Linked DNA regions of Homo sapiens: all the other regions are linked to region 1. The links are contacts of gene promoters, found by promoter capture Hi-C in blood cells and fetal thymus (Javierre and others, 2016). All regions are on one chromosome and are shown on one strand. The core of a region is centred on a gene start or on the middle of the fragment in contact, and the rest is flanking DNA. Distances in the headings are between cores, read along the strand shown. Region 1 holds the start of TRHR (thyrotropin releasing hormone receptor). Region 2 overlaps NUDCD1 (NudC domain containing 1). Region 3 overlaps LOC101927413 (a long non-coding RNA gene). Region 4 overlaps LOC101927413 (a long non-coding RNA gene).

Region 1 (2,933 bases), core at 214-2,713:
CAGTAGTTATGATTACAGACGTGTGCCACCACACCCAGCTAATTTTTGTATTTTTAGCAGAGACGGAGTTTTGCCATGTTGGCCAGGCTGGTCTCAAACTCCTGACCTCTGGTGATCTGCCCACCTCGGCCTCCCAAAGTGCTGGTGTGATCACAAGCATGAGCCACCGTGCCCAGCCTAGAGGTCTATTCTTAATCCACCAGTTACCTTACAGGAAATTTAGCTAAGGGTATTTTTCATTGTCAGTTAATAAAATAAAAGTGGAGAAGCATCAGCATTTGATGTATTCAGTTGGTATCTTGAGAAAAGATACATGTTTTCTGAGCTTCCATTAAAAAAATAGATTTAAGACAAGGCATAGTGCCTCACACCTGTAATCCCAGCACTTTGGAAGGCTGAGGTAGGTGGGTCACTTGAGCCCAGAAGTTCAAGACCAGCCTGTGCAAAATAACAAGACCCCATCTCTACAAAAAAATACAAAACTTAGCTGAGCGTGGTGGTGTGCACCTGTAGTCTCCGCTACACAAGAGGCTGAGGTAGGAGGATCACTTGAGCCCAGGAGGTCGAGGCTGCAGTGAGCTGTGATCATGCCACTGCACTCCAGTCTGGGTGACAGAGTGAGATCCTGTCTCAAAGTTAAAAAAAAAAAAACAAACTGTAGATTTGCCCACTGGCTACTTTAGAGAAATAATAATGCTGAAGTGTACTTTTCTTCAAAAGATGTGTCTATTAATTTTCATTTCAGAGGTTTGGTAACAGAATGGCACTGGTATAGATTTTTACTAGATGATTTTTCCACCTAGAAATAAACTGAGACAAAACATTGCTAGGTGGTTCATGTGACTGGAAATCCAGAGGACAGGTGAAGGTGAAAAGCACCCAGGGCCGATAGAGAGATTCTATAAAGTGGTCCAGAAATAAGAGTTGAAAAACTTAACAGACCCTACGCAGTTTAAATTGATGTTCTTAGCTCAAAGAGGCCTTTTAAAAATAATTGTTATAAGCATCAGAAGATTGCAGCTGAAATGGTTTGAAATCAACTTTAACTAATTTTCCATTCACAAAATATGAGAGGAGGAAGCCAATTGTACTGATTCACTTGAGAAACAGTACAAGGGTTTTCATAGTAGAGAAAGAGGTTGATTTCAGCTCAGACAGATATTTCAAGCTTCAAGGGCCATGTCTAGACTGAGAAGGATTTGCTAACCCCAAAGTCCTATCAAGCAAGGAGTGTAAATGTATTTCAGAGCAGCTCAGGTACTAGAGTTTCTGCAGAACTTAGATGATAAGCAACGACAAAGCCAGCTGCTTCTAGACCCCTGGCTTATGATTTCAGCTTTCCAAATTAAAGACTGTCTCATCAGCACATTTAATAGTAAATCCTCCAAGAGCAGAAGACTCTGAATCAGTGAGGACTGACTGGCATCTGTGAGTGTGTGTGAATGTATGTGTGTGTGTGTGTGTGTGTCTCTGTGTGTGAGAGAGCGAGCGAGCGTGTATGTTCTCATTAGGGGACGATCTATGATTTGACAGCCTCACTGCTGCTGCTCCTGCTGCTGCTTCTGCTTCTGCCGCGGCTGTATGGTTTGTCATTAGTTGGAAAGGGCTGTGAGGGTTTGGAGAAACTGCAGTTTTAAAGACTGAGCACTGCTAAGTGGTCTCCCTCTCAAATAGAGTAGACAAGATTTTCTGCAAGATTAGAAACTTGGAACTATTACCACTTCATCTACCCAGAAAATCAGGCAGCGCTACAGAGGATAAGGTAAGAGAAGAAATTGTCCTCTCTTGAATCTGTGGGGCAGGGGGCATGGGGAAATGTCATCTCAAAGGCTTGCTATTTTATACCAAAGACATCTCACCCTCTGAGAGCAAAAGAGGCAACAGCTAAATTTGTAACAAGCTTGATTATTGAGCTTCTTGGCTTTTTCCTCTGGTATCTTTTTCTTCTTTATTATACTTTTGCCAGGCATCTAAGAGGTGTATTCATATTTATTTTTCAGTTAGCAGATATTTAGTTTTTTTCAACTGGGCACTGTTTCAAAACAATTAGTTTTTACTGTTTCTCTTTCCTTAAGCATTTTTCTCCATTAAGAGGGAACTGGTCCCTCTTAATGTGAGCTGGTCAAAACAGTTACTCCATTCTACACTAGAGATGCAATAAAAGAAGTTTTAAGAAGTACACATGAGCCCTATTCCCATAGAAAAATGGGAAGTGAAAGGAGTGGAAGTGACGGTTATTTGTGATTGGGACTTGATCAGAAATTGTAACACTGTTAATGAATATGTACTATGACCCTTCACAGGGGGATGGAACTGCTGCAATAAAGGTGGGCGCTGGAAAGAAGATGTTTTGAGAAGTCAGTGTTTCCGAGAAACTTTAAGCTTCTAAAGATGGAAAACGAGACAGTCAGTGAACTGAACCAAACACAGCTTCAGCCACGAGCAGTGGTGGCCTTAGAATACCAGGTGGTCACCATCTTACTTGTACTCATTATTTGTGGCCTGGGCATTGTAGGCAACATCATGGTAGTCCTGGTTGTCATGAGAACCAAGCACATGAGGACCCCCACAAACTGCTACCTGGTGAGCCTGGCAGTAGCTGATCTCATGGTCTTGGTGGCCGCAGGCCTCCCCAACATAACAGACAGTATCTACGGTTCCTGGGTCTATGGCTATGTTGGATGCCTCTGCATTACTTACCTCCAGTATTTGGGAATTAATGCATCCTCTTGTTCAATAACAGCCTTTACCATTGAGAGGTACATAGCAATCTGTCACCCCATCAAAGCCCAGTTTCTCTGCACATTTTCCAGAGCCAAAAAGATTATCATCTTTGTCTGGGCTTTCACATCTCTTTACTGTATGCTCTGGTTCTTCTTGCTGGATCTCAATATTAGCACCTACAAAGATGCTATTGTGATATCCTGTGGCTA
Region 2 (2,933 bases), core at 234-2,733, 200 kb after region 1:
CCTGCTCCATGCCTAGGCAGAGCTCCAGGCACCTGGAGCTCTCCTAGATTAGGAGCTCATGCCATCCCCCGAACCCTGTCCAGAGAACTTGGGGCTGGGAGGGTTTCTTAGCTCCACACTTAGGTATGCCTCTGGGCATTTAGTGGCTGCCAGGTAGATTCTCCCTCAGCGCTGGTGTCCACACCTGCCACTGGGGGATCTGTAGGCAGATCTGCCCAGTCTCGTCCTGCCCATCTTGGCCCCTACTCCCCGGGGCTGAGCAGGGAGCTCAGACAACTGTGCAATCCAAGAATCAGCCCATTGCCTGAGGCAATAGAGAGTTCTCCCAGTAAACAAGGATTAAGTATATACCCTGCTGCACTGGCTGCAATTGGCTGTTACTAACAAGCACCATCTACTGGCTTGTAGGTTAAACTGCATAGCCCAATATACAACCTGCCAACAGAAGTGCATAGGGCTATGGAAGCAAAGCCCAAAGACCCTACTCTGCATTCTCTATAGTCACACCCCCTAGAGAGGGAAAGAGAAAGAAAACAAACAAACAAACAAACAAAAATAATATTATAAGGAAAGAAAGAAAACTAAAAAATCCTATCTGCACAAAAATATTATAAAAATTTGAAGTGCCAGAATCTCTAGATAAGAAACCAGAAAATCAAACACCACATGTTCTCACTCATAAGTGGGAGTTGAACAATGAGAACTCATGGATACAGGGAGGGGAACATCACACACCGGGGTTGTCGGGGGGTGGGGGGCTAGGGGAGGGATAGCATTAGGAGAAATACCTAATGTAGATGGCGGGTTGATGAGTGCAGCAAATCACTATGGCACGTGTATACCTATGTAACAAACCTGCACGTTCTGCACATGTATCCCAGAACTTAAAAGTACAATAAAAAAATTCCAAAAAAAAAAAGAAACCAGTGCAAGAATTCTGGCACCATAAAAAAAATCTGAATGTAGTGACATGACAAAAAATATCACTAGCTTTCTAGAAATGGTCCTTAACCAAAATAGACACTCAGAAAAAAGACACAAAGAATTCAAAGCATGGATTGCAAGGAAGCTCAACAAGATCTAAGACAAAATTGAAAATCAATACAAAGAAACTTCTAAAGCAATCCAAGAAATGAAGGAAGAGATAAACATCTTTAAAAGAAATCAGTACAAACTTCTGGAATTGAAAAACTCACTTATGGAATTTCCAAATACAATTGAAAGCTTTATCAACAGACTGAACTGAGCAGAAGAAAGAATTCCAGAACTTGAAGGCCAGTCTTTCAAACTAGTCCAGCTAGACAAAAATAAAGAAAAAAGAATTTTAAAAAAATGAACAAAGTCTCTGAGAAATATGAAATCATGTAAAGTAACCAACCCTATTAACTACTGGCATTCCAGAGAAGAAACACTAAACAAACTGAAAAACATGTTTGAGGGAATAATTCAGAAAATTTCCCTAATCCTGCTAGAGAGGTAGACATTCAGGTATAAGAAATCCAGAACCCCTGAGAAATACTATACAAAATGAAGATCACCAAGGCATATAGCACTAGACTGTCCAAGGTCAACACTAAAGAAAAAACCTTAAAGGCACCTAAAGAAAAGAGATTACATAGGGGAACCCCATTAGGCTAACAGCAGACTTCTCAGCAGAAACCTCACAAGCCAGGAGAGATTGAGAGCTATTTGCAGAATTTTTCAAGAAATTCCACCCAAGAATTTCATATCCCACTAAACTATAAGCTTCATAAGTGAAAGAGAAACAAAATCTTTTCCAGACAAGCAAGCACTAAGACAATCAGTTACCACTATACCAGCCTTAACAAGAGATCTTTAAGGAAGTTCTAAACAGGGAAACAAAAGAACAGTATCTGCTACCACAAAAACACAAGGACAGAGCCATAGTCCCTGTAAAGCAACTATACAATAGAAACTACAAAGCAATCAGTAACAACTTCATGATAGAATCAAAACTTCACATAACAATATTAACCTTAAATGTAAATGATCAAAACATCCCACTTGAAAGGCACAGAGTAGAAAGCTGGATTAAAAAAAAAAAAAAAAAACAAAACAAAAACAAGGCCCATCGGCATTCTACAAGAGACCCATCTAACACATAATGACACCCACAGGCTCAAAGTAAAGGGCTGGAAAAAAACTTGCTATGCAAATGGAAAACAGAAAGCGCAGGAGTCACAATTCTTACCTCAGATAAAACAGACTTTAAACCAACAAAGGTAAAAAAGGACAAAGGGCATTACATAATAATAAAGGGTTCAATTCAATGAGAAGACTGAACTATCCCAAATATATATGTGCTCAACATTGGAGCACCCTGATACATAAAAACAAGTACTTCTAGACCTATGGAAAGACTTAGCCACAAGACAATAGTGGGGAACTTCAACATACCACTCACAGCATCACACAGATCATCAAGGTAGAAAACTAAAGAAAAAAAGTATGGACTTAAATTTGACACTTAATCTAACAGACATCTACAGAATACCCCACCCATCAACCACAGAATATAAATCCTACTCATCTGCACACAGAACATACTCCAAGATCACTCACACACTCAGCCATAAAGCAAGTCTCAATAAATTATAAAAAATGAAATCATACCAATCATACTCTAAGATCACAGTGGAATAAAAATAGAAATCAATACCAAGAAGATCTCTCAAAAACCACACAGTATCATGGAAATTATCTGGGATGCAGCAAAAGCAGTGTTAAGAGGAAAGTGCTATGTATCTACCTCAAAAAGTAAGAAAAGTCTCAAATTAATGATCTAATATCACACCCAGAAGAACAAGAAAAAAAAACAAATTAACACCAAAGCTAGCAAAAGAAAAGAAATAACTAAAATCAGAGCAAAACTGAATGAAATTGAGACCCAAATATGCAAACAATGAATCCAT
Region 3 (2,933 bases), core at 217-2,716, 180 kb before region 1:
AGTATCTTCAAATTAAACACACAAAATGATATTGCATATTATTCTTTTGATACAGATGTTTAAACATTGGTATAGCTGGTGGGAAAAAAAGAACGAGGTCTAGATAAAAGATGATGATAAACATTAAAGTAAAATAAAATGAGGGCTGGCATGAATTAATGATAACAGTTTGCAATAACTCTGATTAGTTTATTGTATATTCAAAGTCCCCCAAACACAACAATAAAAAAATAAGCTGGGAGCAATGGCTCACGCCTGTAATCCTGATGCTTTGGGAGGCCGAGGTGGGAGGATGGCTGGAGCCCAGGAAGTTGAGACTAGTGATATAGCCTAGAGAGAGCTTGTCTCTAAAAAAAAAAAAAAAAATTAAAAAAACACAGAATACTAGATATAGAAAATAAAATAGTGCACATATTGTTTACAAAAAACAAATTTATAAGCATCTGCTAGAAATTTCAGAGGAGGGAGATCCTCTAAGTTTTCCAGTGAGCAAGGAAGGATGAGTAGAAATTACAGGACTTCTATAGTACCCATTATTACTCATTTGAGACTTAGGAGAGATCATTGATAACAAATTTATTTAGTGTGTCAAGTTTATTGTCCTATTTTAGTTAACTTAAATGTTGATGAAGACTTTTCTTAAGCTTCATTCTAACTTTTACTCCTGTCCATATTTTTCACCATAAGATTTGATTACCTCAACAGACATATACAATGGGTGTTTGGAGAAAGCTAAACTCCAAGATTTGGGATGTATACTTATATTACTGTTTTTTTCCCCCCAATTAACTTTGCCTGGTCCCTTCTTGTGTTGAGTGCAGGATCTCCCAAGTGTGTTACTGTTAACCTTTTGAGCTGGATAACTCTTTCCTATTGGGGGAATGTCCTGTGTATTTTAGGATTTTAGCAGCATACCTGATCTCTACTCAACAGGTACCAGTATGACAACCAAAACTGTCTTCAGATATTGCCAGATGTCTTCTGAGAGTTTATCAGAAAGCTAAAGTAAAGGTTAAGTAATTCTTAAGAAGTTGATCAGATTTACTGTATATTCTTCCATAAACTGCCTACTCTCTGCAGAGACTCAGTGCATATCGAATCCCATAAAAAACAATGTATAAGAATATTCAAATAACAGAAATGTATGTCATGAGTTTCTGTAGGGACACTTGAAAAAATACTTTAATATTTAGATAGTTAGGTCAAATCAGATGAAATTTTGATATTGAACCAACATGGCAGTTTCATATTGTTCCACCTAATATTTATCAAAAGCTGCTATTGTGTTGTTTATTTCCCCTGTTAGAACTTAGTTTCCCTGAGCATTCATTGCAATATCTTTTACTTCTAATACAGTGTCTAACACAGTGCGTGCACTCTGTAAACATGGATCATAAATGCTAATTAACACATACGAACACAATTATACATTTAACTAGAATAGTTATAGGAATATATAAGACATTATTTAATGGCAGAAAACATCTTTTGCTGTAGTGACTTGAAAAAATTTTGACCTCCTCAAGATGTTCATTACATAATTTTAGTCATCTCATGCATTTCTTCATCTGATAGTTCTAATATGAGCTTCAGAGTGGGACATTTCAAAGTTTGAATTCCAGCAGCATTGTATGCCAGCTGTCTGGCCTGGTCTGTAAATAAATATGACAATACTTACATCAATGGATTATTGTGATGATTAAATGTCACAACATATACAAAACACCCAGCGCAGTGTTAGCTCAGGTCTGGTATTCAATGAATGTTAGGTAATTTTTGTTTTCGTTTTTGTTTTTTTCCCTAGGTACCCATTCCTATTGATTAAAGTTCTTAGGATTTGCCTCTTTTTGGGTTTCTTTTTGTTTCTGACATTTTTCTTCAACTTGGATAATATTTTTCAGCTGAGGATTTATTCAAGCAAAGTAGGAATTCAGGGGCTGTACTATGCCTATTTCATTTCTCAAGCTAAAAATAAATTTCCATTAACTATACATATAGATGTGTATTTACTTGAATTCTGTACTTGGTTGATGAACAGAATTTTATGATTTGCTTATTATTAGAATTTAACCTAATGACCTCCCACTACAGTCATACTTCTTAAGGTATTTAACGTTGAAATGCAGTTTATTTAATCTTTGCGCATAGGAAGAATAATTATATTGTAATTGCACAATTGTTAAAAGATATCAAGTGCATTTATGCATTTTCCATTTAAGTTAAATTATACACTAAGCATAATAGCTTAAAAAATACTTCTTTTTTACTTAAAATGTTTTTCCTTCTAAGAAAGCTTACAAATTAAATCTCACAAAGATAACCTGATATCTTAAAAAGATCACACACGTTGTACGCAGAGCAAATGTCATCGTTCCAGAATTTTATTTTTTAAAGGGAGCATTTAGTTAATACAAATCAATTTGCAAAAGTGTTTCATTCCCTTTTTGGTTCCAAAATGAATTGAATTCTCCCTTATTATTTGATTCTAATTTATTAGCAGTTTCAATATCTGCTCCTACAAAAATGCCACCCTTTTGCAACCAGAAATACTTTCCAAGAATATAGGACAACTAAATCAGTTTAATAATATATTTCATATAGCAAGCAAAAAACCCTTCAAAAGTTGATTTTAAAACATCATAATACAAAAGAATAAAAAAATAGTTAATACCAAGAGTTTAAAAATCACACCAAAACCTACCTTCTTTGCAAAAAGGTCTCCAGATACCGACTCTACTTGCTTTGTCTTGCTCTGCAACTCTAGGAGATAATCCTGGCTTATTAAATGCACTCAACTCTAATAATGCACACTTCGGGGATAGATGTAAAACAAAAGGAAGAGTACATTTCAATATGTTGACACTTCTCTTGTGTACATTTCATTAGCCAAGATGCACTGTGCATGAGCACACACGCACACACACATACGTTCA
Region 4 (2,933 bases), core at 297-2,796, 160 kb before region 1:
TGACAATCAAACCCATATCTCAGAATTTTGCCTCTATTATCATTGGCTCATAACCTTCACACAAGTTTAAATATTTTTCTAGAATATGGCTCTCATTTTCACAGTAAAAAGCCTAGTCCTGTGTGAAAAACAGACACTGTGCTAAGATTTACACAATTTTGTCATTCCTCAGAAGAGCCTTCAAGATATGAGATGGGAATATTGTGTCTATGAAAGAATGTAGAATTCATACAGACATTACATATTTAAATAAGGCTGTAACATAGTAAGCAGCAGAGTCAGGAATCTAACCTGTGTTTGTCTGAACTCGAGACCCACTCTCCCTTATATTGTACTACCCATGGAACCTCCATGTAAAGGCACTCCTACTTGCATTAAATCTGTTGACTTTAAGGAAAGGTTGGCAATATCCTTGCTTCCTACTGTCTCATTCAAAGCCATTAGATTTTTACATTGGTTCCACCATGCCTACTTCGAAGACCACATATTAACTTTGTTTGTTTGTTTGTTTTTCAGACAGAGTCTCGCTCTTTTGCCCAGGCTAAAGTGCAGTGGTGATATCTCGGCTCAGATCCTGGGTTCAAGTGATTCTCCTTCCTCAGCCTCCCCAGTAGCTGGGATTATAGGCACCCACTACCAAACCTCGCTAATTTTTGTGTTTTTAGTAGACATGGGGTTTCACCATGTTAGCCAGGCTGGTCTTGAACTCCTGACGTCAAGTGATCTGCCCACCTCGGCGTCCCAAAATGCTAGGATTACAGGTGTGAGCCACCATACTCGGACTTAACTTTTAAAAGTCATAATTCCACCAATTTCCAGGTGCCTACCCAGTATGCATAAATTATTTATGCCAGAACCACAGTTCTCTTTTCTACTTCATAATCTTCTAGATGCTTAAGTAACTTCATTCTTCAAATGGACAACCATTTGTATACTATGGACTCATAAGGCTTTTACCTTCTCTTCATTCCACTTTAGCAATGAATCCACAGTTATGTCCTAAACAATGTCATCACTTTTCATCCATTTTTCACATCTGATATCTTGAAACTTGAAATGTGTCTCTCTGACTATAATTTTCTTCCACATTTTCTTACTTCTAAGCAATAGCATTATACTTCTAATATTTCCATATCTCATTATTCTCTCAAATTATTGAGGCTTTGCTTTCCTCCTTATCCAGGCTGGAATACATGGTTCACTGATTTATCTTTATTTCACAAGCCTCTAGGATTTTGTTACACCTCCATAGTTTATTTTAATCACTTTGTCAATTTCTACACCTAGACAAATCAGCTGCCCATTTTCTCTAGGCCTTTTGTTAAGCTGTGGAATTGTGCCAAATAACATCATATAATTTTCATGATTGGATCCATTACCAATGAATGAAATCCAAATACTGACAAGCCTTTAATATTGCTTTATAAATCCATTTATTCAATCTGACTTAAAGCTTCATTGAGCACTTCTCAAGCTGTCTCCTGCAAGATATTAGTATGTGTTCCTCTATATAGAAGCTCTAAAGTAAAATAATTTGGAAATGCTACATATTATATCTAATTCTTATAGATTCACAATTTTCATTTGCATATTCAAGGCTCTGAGAACTACTACAGCAAACATAAAACTTCACATAACATAAAGCTTCAATAATTTATTTGACTTTGAAATCCTTTATTCATTTATTAATTTGTAGGAATCATAACATCTCAGTCAATACATTTTAGGAAATGCCGTACTATACAAAGGGTGAGGTCCTTGTCTGGTTAGTTCACCACTGTATTCTCAACAGTTAGAAAGATGCCCATCTCAGAGTAGGCTCTCACACAGATACAAATATTGGATGAATAAATAAATGAAATAACTAAAGCAGTTTCTGTGACTTTTTCCTGATCTTTTCAATTTTATTAACCACACTACTGCACCCTCATTATCAAGTGAAGCTGGACATGACTTTGTTTTCCTATCACCTCAACATCTTTTCAAAACTTTGAATATTTTTTCATAATTCCCATCTCAGAAATATGTTTGAGTTTTCATGCTTAGTAATAAATATAGATGCTTAGGAGACATAGCTAGATGTCAATCTCTTTCAGATATTTCATTTAATCTCTTAATCCTGTAAAATAAGTAAAATATTCTCTTTTATGTAGGTGATAAAATTAAAACTCATACACACCACAGTTAGAATTTAAACCCAGAGCTGTTGATCTCCAAGGCATAGCTTCTTTCCCAGCCCCATTGTTAACCCCCACTTTCCAAAGATAATAGTCTCATTTTGTTAGATTCCATACTAGGTACAGCTTATGTAACAACTAGATCTACTAGTCCTTGAGCCCCACATGAGATTATAGCCCCGGCTAATACCTTAATTTCAGCCTGGTGAAACCCTGTGCAGAAAACTCAACTAATATATTCCTAAACTTTTTGCTTCCCAAGACTGTGAGATAATAAAAGGGCATTGTCTTAAGATGCTAAGTTTGGGGGAGGAGCCAAGATGGCCGAATAGGAACAGCTCCGGTCTACAGCTCCCAGCGTGACCGATGCAGAAGATGGGTGATTTCTGCATTTCCATCTGAGGTACCGGGTTCACCTCACTAGGGAGTGCCAGACGGTGGGTGCAGAACAGTGGGTGCAGCACACCGTGGGCCAACCGAAGCAGGGTGAGGCATTGCCTCACTTGGGAAGTGCAAGGGGTCAGGGAGTTCCCTTTCCTGGTCAAGGAAAGGGGTGACAGACGGCACCTGGAAAATCGGGCCACTCCCACCCGCATACTGCGCTTTTCCAACGGGCTTAGGAAACAGCACACCAGGAGATTATATCCCGCACATGGTTTGGAGGGTCCTACACCCACGGAGTCTCGCTGATTGCTAGCACAGCAGTCTCAGATCAAACTGCAAGGCAGCAGCGAGGCTGGGGGAGGGGCGCCCGCC

What was found. The method cuts DNA at HindIII sites, captures the fragments that hold promoters and counts their contacts. A CHiCAGO score of 5 or more calls a contact.
Region 2: a contact is called between a fragment that was not itself captured here and the fragment with the promoter of TRHR in region 1, in 1 of 17 cell types (endothelial precursors). The highest score is 5.1, in endothelial precursors.
Region 3: a contact is called between a fragment that was not itself captured here and the fragment with the promoter of TRHR in region 1, in 2 of 17 cell types (megakaryocytes and endothelial precursors). The highest score is 6.3, in megakaryocytes.
Region 4: a contact is called between a fragment that was not itself captured here and the fragment with the promoter of TRHR in region 1, in 2 of 17 cell types (endothelial precursors and megakaryocytes). The highest score is 6.7, in endothelial precursors.

Annotation. Positions count from the first base shown.
Region 1 is chr8:109,085,122-109,088,054 of GRCh38, forward strand. It overlaps TRHR (thyrotropin releasing hormone receptor), which reads left to right and starts at 1,464. Exons shown (of 3, transcript NM_003301.7): 1 at 1,464-1,762; 2 at 2,304-2,933. The coding sequence starts at 2,392. The HindIII fragment of the contact is 732 bases long and covers 1,167-1,898 here.
Region 2 is chr8:109,281,936-109,284,868 of GRCh38, forward strand. The region is part of intron 5 of NUDCD1 (NudC domain containing 1); the gene reads right to left. Among named protein-coding and RNA genes, the nearest start is that of NUDCD1, 51 kb to the right of the region's middle. The HindIII fragment of the contact is 522 bases long and covers 1,223-1,744 here.
Region 3 is chr8:108,907,925-108,910,857 of GRCh38, forward strand. The region is part of intron 3 of LOC101927413 (a long non-coding RNA gene); the gene reads right to left. Among named protein-coding and RNA genes, the nearest start is that of TMEM74, 120 kb to the left of the region's middle. The HindIII fragment of the contact is 1,649 bases long and covers 643-2,291 here.
Region 4 is chr8:108,927,997-108,930,929 of GRCh38, forward strand. The region is part of intron 1 of LOC101927413 (a long non-coding RNA gene); the gene reads right to left. Among named protein-coding and RNA genes, the nearest start is that of TMEM74, 140 kb to the left of the region's middle. The HindIII fragment of the contact is 191 bases long and covers 1,452-1,642 here.